4 separate regions of the Homo sapiens genome follow, and all the other regions are linked to region 1. Evidence: promoter capture Hi-C in 16 types of primary human blood cells and fetal thymus (Javierre and others, 2016). All regions are on one chromosome and are shown on one strand. Each heading gives the region's core, a stretch centred on a gene start or on the middle of the fragment in contact. The rest is flanking DNA. Distances are from core to core; before and after follow the strand shown.

What was found. The method cuts DNA at HindIII sites, captures the fragments that hold promoters and counts their contacts. A CHiCAGO score of 5 or more calls a contact.
Region 2: a fragment that was not itself captured here is called in contact with the fragment with the promoter of INA in region 1 in 1 of 17 cell types (endothelial precursors); the score reaches 5.4 in endothelial precursors.
Region 3: a fragment that was not itself captured here is called in contact with the fragment with the promoter of INA in region 1 in 1 of 17 cell types (endothelial precursors); the score reaches 6.3 in endothelial precursors.
Region 4: a contact is called between a fragment that was not itself captured here and the fragment with the promoter of INA in region 1, in 2 of 17 cell types (erythroblasts and endothelial precursors). The highest score is 6.6, in erythroblasts.

The regions. Positions count from the first base shown.
Region 1 is chr10:103,274,419-103,279,580 of GRCh38, reverse strand. It overlaps INA (internexin neuronal intermediate filament protein alpha), which reads right to left and starts at 2,443. Exons shown (of 3, transcript NM_032727.4): 1 at 1,305-2,443. The coding sequence starts at 2,369. RefSeq lists an enhancer at 1,424-2,028. The HindIII fragment of the contact is 2,856 bases long and covers 906-3,761 here.
Region 2 is chr10:103,023,895-103,029,056 of GRCh38, reverse strand. All of the region lies in intron 1 of CNNM2 (cyclin and CBS domain divalent metal cation transport mediator 2), which reads right to left. Among named protein-coding and RNA genes, the nearest start is that of CNNM2, 110 kb to the right of the region's middle. The HindIII fragment of the contact is 1,983 bases long and covers 1,663-3,645 here.
Region 3 is chr10:103,060,469-103,065,630 of GRCh38, reverse strand. The region is part of intron 4 of CNNM2 (cyclin and CBS domain divalent metal cation transport mediator 2); the gene reads right to left. Among named protein-coding and RNA genes, the nearest start is that of NT5C2, 130 kb to the left of the region's middle. The HindIII fragment of the contact is 1,675 bases long and covers 1,601-3,275 here.
Region 4 is chr10:103,081,624-103,086,785 of GRCh38, reverse strand. CNNM2 (cyclin and CBS domain divalent metal cation transport mediator 2) reads right to left here. Exons shown (of 8, transcript NM_017649.5): 8 at 1-5,162. Among named protein-coding and RNA genes, the nearest start is that of NT5C2, 110 kb to the left of the region's middle. RefSeq lists an enhancer at 2,820-3,114. The HindIII fragment of the contact is 2,093 bases long and covers 2,089-4,181 here.

The sequences.
Region 1 (5,162 bases), core at 1,194-3,693:
TGAATTATAGTCATTCTATTCAAAGGAGCTTTTATTGTACCTTGAAACCGAACCACACTATTCCAATTCTTTTCTACACCTTCCATTTACCCTGTCCCCTGCCTCTGTGCCATTTGCGGTCATAATCCCAGAATTTCTTATATAGTAAAACTGAAGACACAGTGGCCTTTGTTGGGAAGAAATAGCCAATCAATACCATCACAGGAGCTTAGAGGACAGGGAAATATGGAAAAAATACATACACTAGAACAAAGAAAAACCATCTCTGTGACTTATCACATGCACTTACAATGAAAAAAATACTAACAAAACAGGAATTTTCAAGTGGGACCTCACAGCTGCTGAGCAAATTAAGTGTTTTTTGTTTAGTGCTAAGCCATCCATGAAAGCCAAAACTGATGTTGTCTATGAGGTGACCTTTGATTGCAGGTAGCCAAGACTGATGTGTTGGTGTTGCAGGAAAAAAAAAATCAAAGCAGTTAATTGCCTAGAGATTCATAACTGGGACACGAGACAGGAGAGACATAATTTCTGAGATGGGAAGAACTCGAGATCAGCACCGTGGACAGCGCCCCGACCTTTCACGTTTTGCCAACCGGCGAACGCTTTCTTAAGGAGGAAATGTCAGCTGGTGGACAAGGGAATCGTGTGTGTGTGTGTGTGTGTGTGTGTGTGTGCTGGTGGACAAGGGAATCGTGTGTGTGTGTGTGTTGGGGAGGTGGGTAGAGCAGGGTGGTTACTACTAGCTCAAGCATCGCTCAGCTTGTTGGCTCCCAATCTCTACTTTTTGGAGCGCGAAAGTCAAGAAAATGGGATAGGACTCTTCCCAGTTCAGGATCGCATTCTTCCTTCAGCCCTGAAGCAGACCATACTCCATAAATAACTTCTAGGGCGCACAGAAAGCTTTTCAAAGTCAACCAAACAAGCCAGATAGCCGAGACAGCACCGCCCACGTAACCTGCCCCGTTGGGCTCAGTCTTACTTTGGGTGGGGCACTGTTCTCCGGGTCGCCGGTGTGTGTAGGCCCGCTTGCTGACAGACAGGCAGAGTTGGGTTTTCGAACCTCAAATAAATTTAAGGGCTTCTTTGTTTGAAGGGCTGGGGCAGGGACATAAATGAGGGGCGTTCCCTAAAATTAACATTAAAGACTCCAGGGTTTTTTGTTAACCAGCGCCTCCAGCCGCGGCTCTTCTCTCCTCTCTTTTGCCCTCCCCTTAAGTCCTGGGGCCCAGTTTTACCAGAGGAAGAGGGTACGCGCGGAAGAGGGCAGGGCACCCCTCCCCACGCCCAGCCCCGGCCCTTACCTGGTAGCCAGCTACCTCGGCACTGTGCCGCTCCTCCAGCTCCAGGATCTGCCTCTCCAAGGACTCGTTGGCCCCGCGCAGGCCCTCGATCTCGATGGTGCGCGCCTGCAGCTGGCGCCGATACTCGTGGATCTCCTCGCGGCTGGCCCGGATGGCCTCGGTGCTGCGCGCCGCCTGCTCGTTCAGGTTGGCAAACTTGGACTTGTACCATTCTTCCGCGGACTGCAGGTTCTTAGCGGCCAGGGACTCATACTGGGCGCGGATCTCCCTCAGAGCCGAGGTCAGGTCTGGTTTAGCCACAGTCACGTCCACCTCGGCCGCGGCCTGCGACGACGCCTGCAGCGTGGCCAGCAGCTCGGCTACCTCCTCGTCGTGCACCTGGCGTACGAAGGCCAGCTCGTCCAGCAGCGACTCCACCTTCTTCTCCAGGTCCAGGCGGGCCAGCGTGGCGCCGTCCACGTCGCGCTGCTGCGCCTTCAGGGCGCGCTCGGCGCCTTCGCGTCCGCGGCTCTCCTCCTCGCAGCGCGCCCGCAGCCGCTGCACCTCCTCCGCCAGCCCGTCGCGCTCCAGCAGGGCCTGCGAGCGAGCCGAGCTGGCCTCCTCCAGCTGCGCGCGCAGGTCGCGCAGCTCGCGCTGGAAGAGCTCGCCGACGCGCGACGGCTCAGCGTGGCGCTGTCGCAGCGCGGCCAGCTCGGCCTCCAACGCGCGGTTCTGCGTCTCCAGCTGATGCACCTTCTCGATGAACACGGCGAAGCGGTCGTTGAGGCCCTGCAGCTGCTCCTTCTCGTTGGTGCGGATGATCTTGTACTCGTTGGTGCGCGCCGCCGCCTGGCTCAGGTCCAGCCCGTCGGACGCCGGCGGCCGGCGATAGGCCAGGCCGAGGCCGAGCGACGAGGCCGAGGAGCAGGCGGCCGAGGAGGCCACATTGCTGCGGGACAGCGACTGCGAGCGGAAGCCGCCCGCGCCGCCGGCCCCAGAGAGGCGGGCGGACAGGCGAGAGCCATCCCCGAACACCTTGCGGTAGGAGGAGGAGGAGCACAGGTAGTGCTCCGAGCCGAAGCTCATGGTGCCGGGATCGGGGCCGGACGTGCGGCTTCAACGCGAGCTACAGAAGAAAGGAGAGGTGCGGCAGGCAGGGCGCGGCGGGGCGGTGCGCCCGGCTTTTAAGGCGCCGGGGCTGGGGCGGCGCGCTGGGGGCGGAGCTCCTGCTCAGAGTCTGGCCGGGAGAGGGAAGGGGGGCATCCAGGAGTGGGGGCGGGGAGGCGCAGTGACTACCGCAGCTGCGCGCGCGACGACCTGGGGCGCCGGGACAGGGCCATCTGCATCGGAGTCGCCCCTTTCCGCAGCGCTTCTCCCCAAGAATCGACTGCTTCGGAAGTGACTCGAGCGGAGGGGTGCCTAAACGACTGAGGTTTCCCATCCGGAAACCACACAGCTCTGTCGCATCCCTTGACCCTATCCCCTCTTCTTTAACCGACTGGGAGGTTAGGGGTTTCTGGGAGGTGTCCCCTACACCCACCCTCATCCTGAGGTGAGGCGCACAGAAAGCCTTCCCGAGGGCGAGGTCGTGTTTTTCCAGTTACAGTGAGGACCTGCAGAGCGAGCCCTTGTCCCCTTCCTCAGGGTCCCCAAGGAGAAAGGTGGGAGATGCTACGTCAGAAAGCATCTCTCCAGCTGCCCCTCTGCAGCTCCTGGGGAGGCTCCGGGCGGAAAGATGTTCAGCAAGTGCCTCTCCCAGAAGAGAGGGGAGATCAGTAAAGAAAGTGACCCCGAGCTGCGGAGAGTGGGGAGAAGCGGCGGTACAGAGGGGAAAAGAGGCCAGACTTGGAGAAGCAGGAGGCGCTGGGAATTGCTGGGGCTCATCGTTAGGGCACTAAAGCATGGCACAGGCCAGGACCACAAGCTGCTGGAAAGGGGGCTGCAGACTTTTGTGTTTAGAGCATTATATTTTAAAATATTTCGAAAGGAGCATTTTTAAACCAGGAGATTTCACCTGTAAAGAAATTGGATTTCTGGCTTCTTCTGAAAATGGGAAGAGCTGGGATGCCCACAGTGGCAGAGGTGAGTTGCCCTTGCCATTTGTATAAGAAGTGTGCTCTCCTGTTCACTACAGTCCCTGCCATTCTCCACTGAATTACGCCCCCCTTCTTAATTCATTTACTTTACCTCTCTGACCCTGTGGGCATTTGAGATTTCAGTTTGTGTAAATCCAGCAGGGCAGGTTCTCAACTGGCTTCAGAGAGCCACTCCCTGTGCAGATCTCTTTTTGGAGAAAAGAGATCCCTGCAAAAAGATTAAACTCCAGGAGTGGGGGAGAGTGCTGGTGACTGAGCCGGCCTCTTCTGCCACATGGTAGGGTTGGTGGGGCAGGGGGTGAGAATCAAAGAATGGAATCTGAAAAGATGAAGGCTGGGAGGGGTCAGTGTGGCGTCTGTAATATGTACCCACTTGCAAGCTTCTAATATCATTCAGGATGTGGATATGGCTTTGGAGAGGGAGTAGGAAGACCTTTTTAGTTATATCCCAGAATTCCAGACTGAGGGCCTTTTATTGATATTGGAATCTTCAAGGACGTAGTTCTAGGATAAGTTTTACTTCATGGGGAAAGGGGAATATGCTTGGGACAGGCCACTAAAGGAAGGGTGAAAAGGGATCTTATGGGACTTTGGAGCATATCTCTTGGCTTTGTGCTTGATGTCATGGAAGATGGTCAGGCCCTGCCACAGCCTGCCCCTCTGGTTCCTCATCACAGACCAAAGCCTTGAGTTGGAGGGACTCAATTCTGAGGTCTTTGGGCTTAGAAAGACCTGGTAAGGTGAACAATAAAAGATTGCTAACACTGCTGAGTAATGATTGTCTGCCAGTACTTGTGCTGGCACTTTTGCATAGGTTTACCTCTGAACCATGCTTCAAGGTGGCCCTCACCTCCATCTTATAGATAAGGCACCGAGGTGCGGGTGCAGCACAAGGTCACCAGCAAGCAAAGACAAGCATACATTCTCTCTTCACTACATAATTCTGCTTAGTGCAGTGAGACTCTTTTTTTTTTTTTTTTTTTTCTGAGACGGAGTTGGCCGGGTGCAGTGGCTCACACCTGTAATCCCAGCACTTTGGGAGGCCGAGATGGGCGGATCACTTGAGGTGAGGAGTTTGAGACCAGCCTGACCAACATGGTGAAACCCTGTCTCTATTAAAAATATAAAAATGAGCCGGGTGTGGTGGCACGGGCCTGTAATCCCAGCTCCTCAGGAGGCTGAGGCAGGAGAATTGCTTGAACTCGGGAGGTGGAGGTTTTAGTGAGCCGAAATCATGCGACTGCACTCCAGCCTGGGTGACAGAGCGAGACTCCATCAAAAAAAAAAAAAAAAAGAGAGACGGAGTTGCGCTCTTCTTGCCCAGGCTGGAGGGCAGTAGCGTGATCTTGGCTCACCACAGGTCAGCGGGTAGGTGTCTGCCACAACATCTGGCTATTTTTTGTATTTTTTTTTTTTTTTGAGATGGAGTCTCGCTCTGTCGCCCAAGCCGGAATGCAGTGGCACAATCTCGGCTCACTGCAACCTTTGCCTCCTGGGTTCAAGCAGTTCTCTGCCTCAGGCTCCCGAGTAGCTGGGATTACAGGTGCCCACCACCACACCTGGCTAATTTTTGTATTTTTAGTAGAGATGGGGTTTCACCATGTTGGCCAGGCTGGTCTTGAACTCCTGACCTCGTGATCCACCTGCTTTGGCCTCCCGAAGTGCTGGGATTACAGGCATGAGCCACCACGCCTGGCCAATTTTTTGTATTTTTACTAGAGACGGGGTTTCATCATGTTTTCCAGGCTCGTCTTGAACTTGACCTCAGGTGATCCACCTGCCT
Region 2 (5,162 bases), core at 1,405-3,904, 250 kb after region 1:
TGAGGTCAGGGGTTCAAAACCAGCCTGGCCAACATGGTGGAACCTCGTCTTTACTAAAAATACAAAAGTTAGTGGGCATGGTGGCACACGCCTATAATGCCAGCTACTTGGGAGACTGAGACATGACAATCGATTGAACCTGGTGTGCGGAGGTTGCAGTGAGCCGATATCACATCACTGCACTCCAGCCTGAGTGACACAGCGAGACTGTCTCAAAAAAAAAAAAAAGAAAAAAAAAAAAAGAAAAAGAAAAAGAAAAGAAAGAAGAAAATGGGAGGGGGATGAAGATTATGGCGGAAATGGTATTATCTCTGCAAGATCTTGTCATAAGAGGAGATTGTCTTTTTTTTCCTGGGACACAATGAAGTAAACAAGGCCAATCAGTGACTGCCAGTTGATTATAATTTTAGCAACCATTTCCCAGAGGAATGACCAACTGTTGTTACCTAATCTAAGGCCTTGTACATAAAAGACACTCATTTCCTATTTAATTGTACTGATTTTATTATTTTAACTCTTATTGGCACCAAATTCTAGAAAGGTTACAATAGAGTTTGTTCTCAGATGAAGCCCACTTGAAAAACAAGTAGAAATCAAACCCTGTGCTCCTTCCTCTGTTGTGCTTGAGAATGTCTTCAAGAATTTTCATTATCTTCTTATAAACACAAAACATGAATTCAACCTGAAAACCGAGACTCTGATACTCAAATACAATGAGTTGTCAAGTAAAAAAAGATAAGTGTTTACTGAATGACTAGATGAATAAATGAGCGAATGAATGGCCAAAAGAACTCAACATTCATTTGCTTCCGTAAAGAACCTTAGAAACAGACCATCCTTTTGAGGGACCTGGTCCTTGGTAAAAATGACAAACTGTCTTAAGCTTTCTGTGAGTACGCACTACAAATGCCTTATGGAACATCACCTCAGTTCCTGATACAATGTTCAGCAGATCTAGGCTGCTCTCGGTCACTGACCCCTCATCAAAAAAGGCACAGATTTTAAGAGCTCAAATATGTGACAGGACCCTAGGCATACTATCAGTGATTAAGAACTTTAAAATTAGACAAGTATGGGTGTAGATGCTTTGACTCTGTTACATACTACCTGTGTGACTGAGAGCAAGTCATTTACCTTCTCATGGCCTCCCACTTTGACCGTCTGTAAATGGAGATATACCCTATGTTTACTATAAAAATTGAAAAATCAAATGAAAAAACAATTTAAATAGTGCCTGGCACATAGTAAGTGCTCAATAAATGATAATGATTATATTACTGATGAACTTTCTCATGGGTTAGGAAGCTAAAAATCATCTCAAATGTACATGCATAATACCTTTTAATATCTATAGAAACAGGATCTTGGGATTATTGGAATTATACAGCTATAAGTAGCTTCTTTCAAAATATAGATTGTAGGCTTCTATCAAAGACCATCATTTGTATCACCTGAGCATTCAATCCTATGTAGGCTTATTTTGCTTTAAAGTTCAATATAGCAACTCTACAAATTGTTTGCTCAGTTTCTCAATACCAAAATTTTGCAGCTGGGTGCATCGAATGGGTTATGGAGATTGTCCTCCCTCCCCTCTCACCTCTAGAAGTAGTTGCTCCCGCTTACTGGATGAGGCAGTGGGGAGGGCGGCCCATGAAGGAAGCTTGTACAGCCACTGCCTTTGTCATATTTCCTCTGTGAAGAAACAGAAGACTTCAGTTCCTGGGATTGGTTAAGCTCTAGAATAGAGAACTAAGGAACTACTTTGTATTTTCCTAAGAATCTCATCTCTCTTTGGGCAGAGCGCCATTGCAGCCAAACTGCTACACATTCTTTTTGCATCTTTGTCAGGAAACTGGAATGATAATAAACACAGGTAGCTTGTAATACACAATAAATTGAAGGAAGTTGGCACAGAGCAGAGAAAGACTCAAAGACTGAGGGAATGAGAAGGGGAAAAGCCAATGAAATAATAAATTATGTGCAATGGCCATACCAACCTTGACATTTTTAAAGATATTGCAAAGGTTTCCATGTTTATGATTAGAATTCACTTGAGGTCAATATGGCCAGTCATGAATTCATTCAACAAGTATTTTTCTTGAGCACTCACTATATGCTAAGCACTGTACCATGCACCAGCGATTAAACTCAAACACATACAAGACTGATTTCCTTACTGTCAAGGAACTGGAAGTCGACCAAGGAAGACAGGCAAGGAAAATTACAACATGTTAGACTCTTCTCTTAACTGACCTCCATGTAACAATGTGCTAATGAACACACTCCATTCTCCCTGTAGAACACACTGACTGAGGCCCACAGCACACTGAATGCTTTTGTCTAATAGACTGCTATCTAGTACTCTGCATTCTAAACTCCCCTGGATTAAGTAGAAATTTTACTAAGAATTGGTTATTTCTGTTTCCAAACCTTTTTTTTTTTTTTTTTTTTTTTTGAAGACAAGGTCTCACTCTGTCCCTAAGGCTAGAGTGCAGTGGCACGATCACAGCTCACTGCAACCTTGACCTCCTGGGCTCCAGCAATTCTCTCACCTCAGCCTCTTGAGTAGCTGAGACTACAGGTATGTGCAACCATGCCCAGCTAAATTTTTGTATTTTTTGTAGAGACACAGTTTTGCCGTGTTTCCCAGACTGGTCTCAAACTCCTGAGCTCAAGCGATCCACCCGCCTTGGCCTCCCAAAGTGCTGGGATTACAGGCATGAGCCACTACTCCCAGCCTCCAAAAATATTTATGACATTTGTACTTGATGCTGCAATTATGTAATTTAAGTATTATAAAAACTTAAGAGAATAGAAAAGTTGTTTCTACGGACACTGTCTCAGTCCATTTTGTGCTGCTACATCACAATACCCAAGACAGGTTAATTTATGAAGAACAGATTTCTTACAGTTTGGAGGCTGGGAAGTGCAAGATTGAGGGGCCCACATCTGGCAAGGGCCTTCATGCTGTGTCATCCCATGGCAGAAGGGCAAGAGAGCAAGAGGGGACTGAACTTGCTCCTATAACAAGCCCATTCTCACAGTAACTAACCTAACTACATAATGACACCAATCCATTCACGAGGAACCTGATGACCCAATCACCTCTTATTAGACCCCCATCTCCCAGTGTTTGCATTGGAGATTAAGTTTCGCCACATGAACTTTGTGAGACACATTCAACCCACAGCAAATATGATGAATCTTTCAGAAAGAATCAGTAAAAGCAGGCTGTTAAACAAAAAAATCCCTGCTGTTGAATTAGGAGGGGGTAAGAGAAAACAGATCTAGGAAGATTCTGCACTTGTATTGCTTTGAAAATGCTTTGCATTGCTTGTTCCACTTGAAGTGAAAACTCAGATTTAGAGAAGATTTGGATAACTTAGAGAAGATATACTACGGATGTGATTCATGCACTATTGTATGAAACACGAATCAGTAAGCCCAACTCAAAGAAAATGCCTGGGTCCTACTTCAGAAGAATGGCAACACCATCTTCCAATGCCTGTTGAAATGTATTGATTCAGGCAAAGAACATTAACAGATGCTAAAACTATTAGGGGGAGAGGTTGATGGAGAAAATAATATTTGTGTGGTGCTGAAGTATCACTCCACAGATCATTGCTAATCCCAAAGAAGAAAGCTTATCTCTAGAATGGAGCCAACTTGGCTGGGCGTGGTGGCTCACGCCTGTAATCCCAGCAATTTGGGAGGCCGAGGTGGGTGGATCACAAGGTCAGGAGATCAAGACCATCCTGGCCAACACGGTGAAACCCCACCTCTACTAAAATACAAAAATTAGCCGGGCATGGTGGCACATGCCTGTAATCCCAGCTACTTGGGAGGCTGAGGCAGGAGAATCGCTTGAACCAGGGAGTTGGAGGTTGCCGCGAGCGGAGATCACGCCACTGCACTCCAGCCTGGGTGACAGGGCGAGACGCTGTCTCAAAAATAAAAATAAAAAATAAATAAAATAGAACGGAGCCAACTGCAGTCACTACCTTAATCAAGTGATCAAATTTAAAATCATTAGTAGTGGATAACCAGACCATATGTACCACCTAAAGTATTGCACACCAAAATATATTTCATCCTTTATAAAGTATTACTGATGAAGGTGTTTAATGTAGTCAGGAATTTGGATCTAGCTTCCAGTGTACAGGAAATACATGGGATAGATAAATGAGTTAAATGATACAATGACAAAACAATCATACAAGCCCCAAATGTAGGGCACTCTACAAAACAACTAGCTTGGTTTCTTTAAAAAGCCAATATCGGCCGGGTGCGGTGGCTCACGCCTGTAATCCCAGCAATTTGGGAGGCTGAAGTGGGTCGATCACGAGGTCAGGAGATCAAGATCATCCTGACTAACACGGTGAAACCCCATCTCTACTAAAAATACAAAAAACTAGCCAGGCATGGTGGCACGCACCTGCAGTCCCAGCTGCTCGGGAGGCTGAGGCAGGAGAATCGCTTGAACCCGGGAGGCGGAGATTGCAGTGAGCCGAGATCACGCCACCGCATTCCAGCCTGGGTGACAGAGCAAGACTCCATCTCAAAAAAAATAAAAATAAAAATAAAAATAAATTTTGCTTGGTATTATCACAGTACTGTATTTGGTTACATCACAAAATGACTTTATTGCTTAGACTTATGAGGCATGAAATGGTATGTCTTGAATCTGTTTTGAAATATTTTTGCAAAGAAAAAAGATAAATGAAACCAATATAACAAAGCCATGATAGTTATTGAATTGGTAATGGGTATATTGTGGTTTATTGTCTATTTTCTCTACTTTTATATATACTTTAAACTTATTAAAAAGTCAGTATCATGAAAAAATACTCAATGTCATGAAAAAATGAGAGGAATTATTCTAGCTTAAAGACACCAAAAAAAGCATAATATCACAATGCAATGCAAAAATCTTGATTGCATCCTTGTTAGAAGAAAACCAACTACAAATGACATTTGTGGAACAATTGGGAAAATGTGAATATGGAGAGAGTAGTCAATGATTTTAGGGTACCCTAATTTTCTTAAGAGTGATGATGGAATTAGGTTATGTGGAAGAAGTATGCAAAAACAGTTTAGGATAAAGTATGATATCTGTAACTTTCTTTGAAATGGTTCAAAAAATTAAAAATTATCACATCTAA
Region 3 (5,162 bases), core at 1,189-3,688, 210 kb after region 1:
GAGCATTTGTTGTACAAGTTACAGGGCCTTTTGTGTTGTGTCCCTGCAGACAGATGCCAGGTCACTATTCTTTGGAGATAAAACTGTCAGGACTAGTAGGGCAGGCACAACCAAAACAAGACTGTAAAACAGAAAACTGTACATCTTTTTTTCTATTTAATCCATAGGTTCACACCATCTGTCTCTTGGAAGCGTGCGGTGGTTCCACTCTGAGGCCTGAAGCTCTGCCTTGCACACTCAAAGCAGAGATTCCCAGATTACCGACTCTGGCTCCGGCCCTCGGGCATTCTCATTTAACAATATAGGTGAATCTGGGCATCAGGATTTTATTTAAAAAGATTTCCGGGTGATTCTAGCAAGCCACAAACTTTGGGAATCATTGCTTTAAGGCTCTGTCTGTGAACAATGGCCCCAGCCCTGGAAACTGTGTGCCCTGGCCTCTCAAGGGACTCCCTCAAAGGCAGTGTAGCTGAGTCAACTGATTAAGCAAGGGCGGCTGCAAGACTCAAAACTCCAGACCACTGCCATTCCAGCTGATGCTTCCTCTGTCCTTCCAGACAGGATCCCAGGCAGGGGAGGATCTGCCATCTTCCCTCTGGACTCCATCTAGTTGAGATTCACTGCTGCGGGGTGGATATGCTAAGCTCAGTGATTCCTAGACATTTCCATCCTAACGGCCAGTAAGACGCACCTCTACAGAGACAGATACAGGGAAAGATACGGGGTTGCCAAATTTTTTTTTCATAAAGATGGTTTTAAAATTTATTTTTTCAGACAGGGTCTTACTCTGTCACCCAGGCTGGAGTGCAGTGGTGCAATCATGGCTCACCGCACCGGTGGTGAGAATCCTGCAGCCTTGAACTCCTGAGCTCAAGCAACACTTGTAACTCAGCCTCCTGAGTAGCTGGCACTACAGGTGTGCACCACCATGCCCAGCTAATTTTTCTATTTTTTTATAGAGACGGGGTCTCACTATGTTTCCCAGGCTGGTCTTGAACTCCTGGCTGATCCTCCCTCCTCAGTCTCCCAAAGTGTTGGGATTACAGGCATGAGCCACCGTGCCAGGGCAAAATAAAGGTATTTATTTTAAAAAACACAACTATTGCCAGGCACAGTAGCTCACACCTGTAATCCCAGTTACTGGGGAGGCTGAGGCAGGAGGATTGCTTGAGGTCAGGAGCTCAAGACTAGCCTGGGCGAAATAGTGAGGCACTGTCTCAAAACAAAACAAAACAAAAAAAACAGCTATCTACTGTTACCATCATTTCATAAAAGACCAGACATTTAACCCCTCAAATTTAGAAAATATGTCATTTCAGAGTAATAGGTCTTCAAACTGAATACACATAGCTTTATGAAAAGCTCATCGCAACTGTCTTTATTTTCTCATTCTGCCTCAAACTGGCAAAAACTTTGTTAAAATATCTCAGCACTTAGGAAGAGTTATCACATTAGAGTAATTTTACTTCATATAAAGTTGCAACAGATTAAAGGGTACCTGCAGTTCTTTCAGTTCTATAATAGCATTCTATGACTCTACAATTCCAAGAGTTGTCAAACCTGCCCACCCCACTACATCCCTCTCTATAGGATTTAAGCTTTTCTGGCAGGCAAGTTTTAAAAACATCCAGTAAACGTATCTTATTCATTTACGTGTTAGTGGTTCCAAAAAACATTCATTTTCAAATAACCTACCAGTATACAAAAATTAGGGCACAGGAGGAGATGGCTTACCTGGTTCGAGATTAATTAGGTGTCCTTTCAGATAACAACTTTTTCCATATAAGGAAGCTACATATTGATTTTACTTTTGAAACATCTGTAAGTTTACTCTAGTCGAGCATATCACCAAAAAAACCAGGACAGGACATGATGAATTCCAAGAATTCCCAGAGGGAAGTAGGGCTTCATGCTTATAAACTGACGAACTTGGAAGAAGGACTCACTGGACCAGCAAAGTTGGCTTCCTGAGTAAAGCATCTCTCACAGCATCCTGCCCTTCTTTGGACAAAGGTATCAGATAACCTCTTCTCAAAGTTTCTAAGTGTCCACAACCTACTCAACAGCCCGTGCCATGTCTGGCTTCAAAGTGGAATCCTAAACTTCCCTAGCCAGCGTGGGCACAACCACACTGGTGCAAACAGTGCCAACCCGGGATCAGTGCATGCGGCTCAAGGCGGGACTTCCCCATGCGCCACATGCTGAGCAGCCACCTGGTCTCCCGCTCACCTTCTTGTTTTTTAAATCGCCATCACAAAGTATTCAGGGGGGCCTGACTCCTGAAAGCAGGTGATGAGATGCCAGGGGCACAAAGACTGGGTTGTATTAACCGAGAGAGGAGTTGCAGCACCCAAAGATGCCCACTCAAAGCCTGGGGAGACCTGGTGCCCCGACACTCTCTAGCAATGCTTTCAATCTGGAGTCTGCAATGGAATGGCCAGACTCAGCAAGTTTGCTAAATTTACTTTTCTAAATATTGATGGTCAAAATTAATTTAGACACATTTTGGACCATCTGACTGACCATTTTCCAATCAAGTGCTACCACCAGATGTCAGTGCCAGCACCCGCCTTGGCCACTCTGGTGCCACGTGGTATTACTTGGAGCATCACAGCTAAGCCTTGCTACTGTCAACTGGGAGCTTGCTGGTAACGCAGCATCTCAGACTCCACCCCAGACCTACTGAAGCATTCGTTTCATACTGAAGGATCTGCCGTTCAACAAGACCCACAGGTGAATCCTCTGCACATTAAATTCTGAGAAGCACTGAGCTAATGAGTAGGGAACAGAGTGGGATTTAACAGGGAAGTAATTCAGTCACACCCAGTGGAGGCCAAATAATAGCACGACACACTGTAGAAACATTCAAAGTAGCTCAAATTTGGCAAAGGGCTGGAGGGTGCAGACATCTTGGACACACAAAGGCCCAGGTGTGCTGAATGCAAGGGAGCTCGCAGGGCAGCAGCCCTCCACAGCCCTGGGATGGGGCCCTTCCAGGTCAGCCAAATATCATCTACACATTGAGAATTTATTCATTTGATAGTTTGTTTTGGTTTATAGTTATATATAAGAGTTCTAAGCAAAGGAATCTTATACCTAGTCAATTTTATACTGACATATACTTAAGTAGTATAATTTTAAAAGTTTCAATGCTGGGTGTCCAAGTAAAATGGGTGTGTTATCTGTGCTTGACTCAAGATTAAGGATCCGTTACTGCACTAGGGTACACAGACCGTGCAACTTAAAAACCCATGAGGAGGTTGCTATTAAAAGCTTAAATTCTCCTTCCTATCAGGTGAAGGGTGAAGGCATACTAAGTATTTCAAGGGCTGTATAAATTTTAAGATGCCACCTGCCATACTCCACAAGACGACCCCCGTTTATAGGGAAAAGTCCCTTTTGAATCCATGTCAGATGCTCTAAAAAAGAGTGTGGATGGGCCGGGCACATGCTTTCCACTTCTTCCATTACTACATAGTGATCCCTCATATTATCATCTCACTTTGATTAGCTAGACGTGAACTGTTTCTACTACTTTATAGTTAATAGATTTGCTATAAATATATTTGCATAGATAGCTTTGTAAAACAATGATTTAGATGGGAGGCTACCAGTTTAGGATATGATTTATTGTACTTTTTCTTTTTTGTCTACCATTCAGTTAAAAATTTGAGGGGATGGGGCATCTGTTTCCTAAAATCAGTAATAGATGCTTAACTTTGTCAACTGTCTGACATCTACTGATATAAATATCATTTTTTTTTACTACTTTCCCAATTAATGTGACATATTTTGGTTTTGTTGTTCTTAAACTAGAACTGCATTCCTAAAATAAACCCAGTTCAGTCACAGCCACAAGTCAGTAACCCTGGGTGTGTGTTGCTATCTGCTACCATTTTATTTAGAAATTCTACATCAATGTTAACAAGTGAGATTGGCTTATATTATCAGATTTTAGGATTAAGCCCATATTAGCCTTAAAGAATGCAATTGACTATCATGCCATCTTGTTCTATAATATAGAAATTGTGAGTTTTTTGAAGATTGACTATTTTTTCTAGCAAATCCTTTTATTCTAGCTGCTTTTATAGGAGAGGAGAGAACTTTTTTTTCCTTTTATCACATCAATTATGCCAACAGAACACTGACTCTGTTCATATTTTCAAAGAGCCAAATCTTGATTGTGTTTGTTGGTTATAAGGCATTTTCAATTTTAAATTATTATTATATATATTTTTTTGAGACAGAGTCTCGCTCTGTTGCCCAGGCTGGAGCAGTGGCGCGATCTCAGCTCACTGCAACCTCCGCCTTCTGGGTTCAAGTGATTCTCGGGCCTCAGCTTCCTGAGTAGCTGGGACCACAGGCGCACACCAACACGTCTAGCTAAGTTTTGCATTTTTAGTAGAGACGGGGTTTCACCATGTTGGCCAGGCTGGTCTCAAACTCCTGACCTCAAGTGATCCGCCTGCCTCAGCCTCCCAAAGTGCTGGACAGGTGCAAGCCACCACGCCCGGCCAGTTTATATAACAATCTTTATTAATTTGTTCTTTTTTAGTTTGCTGCTTTGCTCTTTTTCCACATAATTATAGTTCTATTTTCTTTTTAAGTACGTAAGGAATAAGATTTCTTAAAACTGACAGACCACCTCTATGGTATTTACATTATTTAATAATAGACTTTTATGGTAATACTATATATATTTTATTACATTCTATATGTTTTCTCTAACTCAGTTGCTATTTAGGACTTTTATTTTGTCATTAGCTCTATTTTTAAATTAAATAGTACATGCGCATGGTGAGAAATTTAAACTATGCAAGGAAGAAGTCAGTCTTCCTTCCACCCTGTTTTCAACCTTTCAAGTTGCCTCCTTAGAGACTCGTTGTTACCAGTTTATTGGGTAACCTTCTGAAGATATTTCATGTAGATTTGCATGTTTCTTTTACAAAAAAGAGAGTACATTATACACTATGTTCTGTGTCTTGAATATAAACCTACATAAGAGAATGTATCACAATTTTAACATGACTTAGTATTTTTTAATATATGACCTTTTCTTTTTTTAAATTTATCTTATTTTGTTTGGAGATGGGGGTCTCACTCTGTCCCTCAGGCTGGAGTGCAGTGGCACGATCTCGGCTCACTGCAATCTCTGCCTCCCA
Region 4 (5,162 bases), core at 1,886-4,385, 190 kb after region 1:
CTTGCCATAAGCATACCTCTGCTGAGACCTAAAATAATAACGCAAACCCTTCAAGCTACCCTAAGATACTTTTAGAAGTCGTTTTTAATAGAACTACAAATCCTTAAGTCACATTAGCATTGTTAAGAAACCACTTTAAAAAGCCACATGCAGTTGCATGTCAGATTTAGAAGTATTTTGTCCATGTTTAGGTATTTCTAAATCAGATGTATTTATTTAAGAAATACTTTGTCAACAACTTTAAAGCCCAGCAATTTTTCCAAGGCTGCCTGGTCATTTTAAAATAAATACTCTGCTTATTCACCACGAATAGCCTGAGACAACTACATATTTAAGTCTGTATTAGGGTAGGAACCTTACCCACATTCCATGTTATGGAAACTATTTAATCTGTCTTTGATGGTGGGAAAAATGGTAACTATGATCTAGCTATTGCCATACAGTTAACGCTCCAATTCCTCACTGGGCTTAGTAGTTTAGGGCTCAAATACTTATGTTTCTCATGATGATCTTTAGTGGTGATCAGGGAATCCAGCTTTTCTTAAAAGTTTTTCCTCAAATAGAACAATTTCAAATGATACACAACTTTTGGGAGGCCCTGAGAGTGAAATCTCTACCATGGAGCTACCAGAGCAACCCTGCAGATAGAAGAAAAACATGCACTACTGCTAAGGAGCAGGGATGACCACAGGCACAGGCAACCAGAAAGCAGAAACAGGTGACTTCCAGAAACCCCCGCTGCCCCGTCACGCACCTCCCGTAACAAGAACGCAGCACGTCACACAGTTCTCGCGCTGCTAGGTATCTAGAAACAGCAGAAAGCAAGTCCTTTAAACAGGCAGCATGTTCATTTATAGAATGAGTAAAAAGCTTTTCTATTCTTTAACCTGGATTTCTCAACCATTTTTCCCTGTCCTCACACACAATGTCTTCATCCCAAGGCCACAACAGTCTGATTCATTCCAACAAAGGTATGTGATCTCAAAAATAAAATATATACAGAAGTTTCTCTGTAGAGCTTTAACACAAAAAAGTACTCCCCATTGAACACAAACATTTCATCTCAAACTTGCTGACTCTGTTTAAGGATGAGGAATCTATGTTTTCCAATTTAAATTTAAAACACAATGATGAATTTTGAATCTCGTCCCTTTGTTTCTTCACACAAAATAACTAGGTACAACTATGTCCCCAGATGTTCTGGTCTCCCATGGAGCTCTTCCCAAAGCCATGTCTGGCGAGGGGAGTAGACAAGGCCTGAGATAAACCTTCCCACACAAACTGGAGCCCAAGCAGCTGAGCACACATTTTTCCCACGAAAGGCAGCAATAGTCCTTCCACGTCTCACAAGTTCTTGAGATACTTGGAAAGAAGATTTGCCAAGCAAACCTTCCCCACACTGAAAAATGTTTACTCAGTGTCCAGTCTTTGAGAGAGTGTTCTCACCAGAGTTATCTTTGACTTGAGTGTGTGGGTATCTTTAAACAAGTCACTTTTTGGACCCACTGACCTCAAGTCAATGACTTAGTAGAACTGCAGTAGGAAAACTGGCCCCATCTAAAATTTCCTATCATGTGTTGGCCTCCTGTTTGAACACTGCACAGTCACTAATACCCTGACAGGAAAAGCACTTCAGAAGTCGGGCAACTAATTCTCCCTTAGAAACGTGCATCCTCAGTCCTCAGTAATCCACTAGGGGAGATGGCATGCCAGCAGAAAGTCAGAGAAAAGGGCCCTAGAACCATCCCTTTGTCCTGGGACTGCTTGAAAATAAGAGCACAGATATGAGGCCCTTGGAGGGAAAATGACAAAACCACCATACAAAGAAAGCAAAAGAGTTTATTATCCACCTAATAGAATTCAACTTTTTGGCTTTAATAAAGAATCATCTCTTTTAAATTACCTTCAAAAAGTATAAAATAAGTTTCCAGAAATCAACTCCAGGCTATAAAAAGGTCAGTTTTTAACCACTTTCTCTACAAGACCCTCTGATCAATATTTGTTTCCTCAGAAGTGCCGAGTTGAAAAACGGCTCTAGGGAGCACAATTTTTGTGAAATAGAAACCCCGGGTGCATCACGATAAAGCTTAGAAATGAGCGGATGTGTGCGCACTCTGAGGATGCAGGGGGGAGTTTTAGGCAAATCTCATCTTGACAGCAGGAAAAATTGCCTCCATTTTCCTTGGAGCATTTCCTGATTTGAGCTAAGGGCTCATCTAGACCAAGTGAGTAAAACAGGAAAAACAAACCAAGGCAGGAGGCTGGGAGTGAATGTGCTACCATGATTTCTTTCCCTAGCTCTGCTGCCACTTTCTGCCCTGCTTCTAATGAAAGCAAGCAGGGTTCGAAGACAGCATTTCACTGGGCTAAGATACACCTCATTCTACTTTCAGGTAGTTGGGCGATACCTGGGGAGATGGGAGCGGTAGTTAGGTCAGGCAGTGTCTGAAAGCCAATTCTGTCAGCAGTTCTTCCCTGAAATGTCTCCATCCACAGAACAAGTGTAAGTAAAAGACTGCAAATGCCACGGTTAAATAAATTCAGTGGAGACTATAAATGGACCAGTCAAGAGGCTAAATTTTCAGAGCACGATCCTCTTTGGAATGTAAAATAGAGACTAAAAGTGGAGAGAAAAGGGATTCCAAAAAGATGTGGTTTAGGAATGGATCACAGAGGGTCCCTGAAGCTCCACCGTAAGTTCTTCAGGGACTGGTCTCATGTGAGTGATGAGGGTAAGAAGGAACAGAAGACAAAGTAGTGATGGAAAAGAACGTGTATCATACACACCGATTACTGGGGAATGCAGGATATCCACTGAATCCTGAAGACCCACCTGCACACGCCTCGCCACACTCAGGCCGGATGTTTTCCACTTGAAAGTGACTATCCATGCCTGCTCCGACCTTCCTCCCAGGCTTAGCATAGCAGAGGAGGACCTATAAAGCCATCCTTGTTTTCAAGAGCCAATTGAGAGGCCTGAATGAGACCTTTGGTCTTACCTAGGAAATGCCGGCTTAGCCCAGCGGCACTGTGTGTTGTTATTAGTGACTGAGCAGCCAATGTCTGGGGCAATTTGACTGGATACTCCGAATGTTCTTATGTAGAGAGTAACTGATGGAGAACAGATTATAATCCTTGCAAAGAAGGACACCTTCCCCCTAGGATTGGCTGTACCAGGCTGTGACTTGGAGGCACAGAACTAGTACCCACTTCTCTTAAGACTTTACACTGTCCAAAGAAGATGCTCTTCTATGTTGTCATGCTGAGATCCAGTCCCAGCTTTCCCACCAGCAAAGCCAGGCAAGTGGGTAGGGCAGTTGGTTCAGCCAAGCTGAATACAATGGCATGGTTGGTGTTGCACAGATGAAAGGGAAGAGGGAACACACATCTGCTAGCAGGGTGAACAGAACATCATTTATCTAAATAGAATAGAAATAAACAAAAACCTTGTAAAACAATCACAAAATTTACAAATAAATTGGTACAAAATAAATAGGAGAGACTGTACATCTACATCATTTGAATTATAAAATGCATTCATTAAGACAATCAGCTCAATCCTATACATGTCATTTGTGCTTATTTAGGTTTATGTACACAGCTCTGAATACTGTGTTCAGAAAACTTCACTGCTCAAATGCATGACCTGTACACTATGATACAGTGAATAAAGGCTGAGGAGGATCAAAGTCAGACACAAAGCAGGGTCTTACTTGAGGGCCAAGGCAATGTTGGCACTGGGCCTCAAAACCAAGAAAAGGCATATTAAGAGCCCAGATAGGCAGGCAGCTTCCATTATCCAGAAAGATGGATTATGCAATCTAAGGTAAGTGGAAGAAACCATTATCACTGTGGGGCCAGGCAAGTGACCTGCCTTGGGAGGAGGGAGGCCGTGGACTCACAGCTGTACTGTACCCTACATAGGGGAAGAGAGCCTGTCACCAAGAAACCACCTTGGAAATATTTCATGGAGGTACTTGAGAGGCCCTGCCCACAAGGTAGGAGACCTGCCTCCATCCTCATCCAAAACACTGGTCATAAGGAATACAGGTGGGCCCAACTAAAGGGGCTGGGGATGCTAGGGCCAACATAAAAGCAGCAACCTGTTTATAAAAAACAACACTACCCTCTCACCCGCCTTAAAGGACAGCAGAACCCTAGGATCCATGGATGAGGAAGCTTCAAGACAGACCTTGTCCTAGTCACAGACGAAGTACTAACAGGCATATGTACATAATAAATAATATAAAATAAAGCATATACATTTGTGGGTTTAAAGGACTCAAACAAGAAAAAATTGATAACTTCACCTTCACAGTAGATTCAGACTTGGGGAGTAATGATCAGAAGCGAGGCTGGGGCTCTCTGGGGAATGAGAATCCTAAGACCTCATTCTTCCCAACTTTGCTCTGCTCTAGAAGTCTGAGCCTCCAACAAAAAAGGCAGGCACCCAAGCCCCACCAGGCCCATTGGATAGTTCTCTTCAGGGTGAATCTGCAGCCAAATCTGGCCCCCAAAGAACTGCATCCTAAAAGTGAATCCATGTGGATCAGATGCCGGAAGGCGTCCTTCCAAGCGAGGCAAGACAATGCTCCCATTCTTCTCATTTGTTCACGGTCCCAATGGGCATTAAAACCTGAAAACCTTGTGTACTCAAGTCTTTCTTACAGTATGTGTTGGATCTGTGTACATATAAACCTTGGCATACAAACACCTAGAACTTTACTCTCTTGCAGCTAGAACCTTTGTTTCCATGATGCTTGAAGTTCAACCTGGTATTTCCCATCAAAAGATATTTAAAACAATTCTAGTAGAGATGATGTCAGTAGCTCTAGCATACAGAGAGAACGTGCTTACTTGAGCTGAGCCAACCACAGTGGTGTGAGAAGCAAAGAAGGTCCCCAGCCTAGGATGGTGGGAGGAAAGCTGCTCCCTACTCTATGCAGTTGCTGTGAACTGCCATCTCTTCTTCGCATCCGTAGGGTTGACCAGGGACTCTAGAATATGAATCTCCAGATAGGAAAGAAGGTAGCAAAAGGGAAATGGGCAAGTAAACCGTGATCGCAGACAGAAAGCTTGCAAGTGCTAGAGGAGGAAGGCCTACTTGTCACAGCCTTGCTAAGTAACAGCAGCAAGCTATTGGTGCACCACTCACCCCTCAA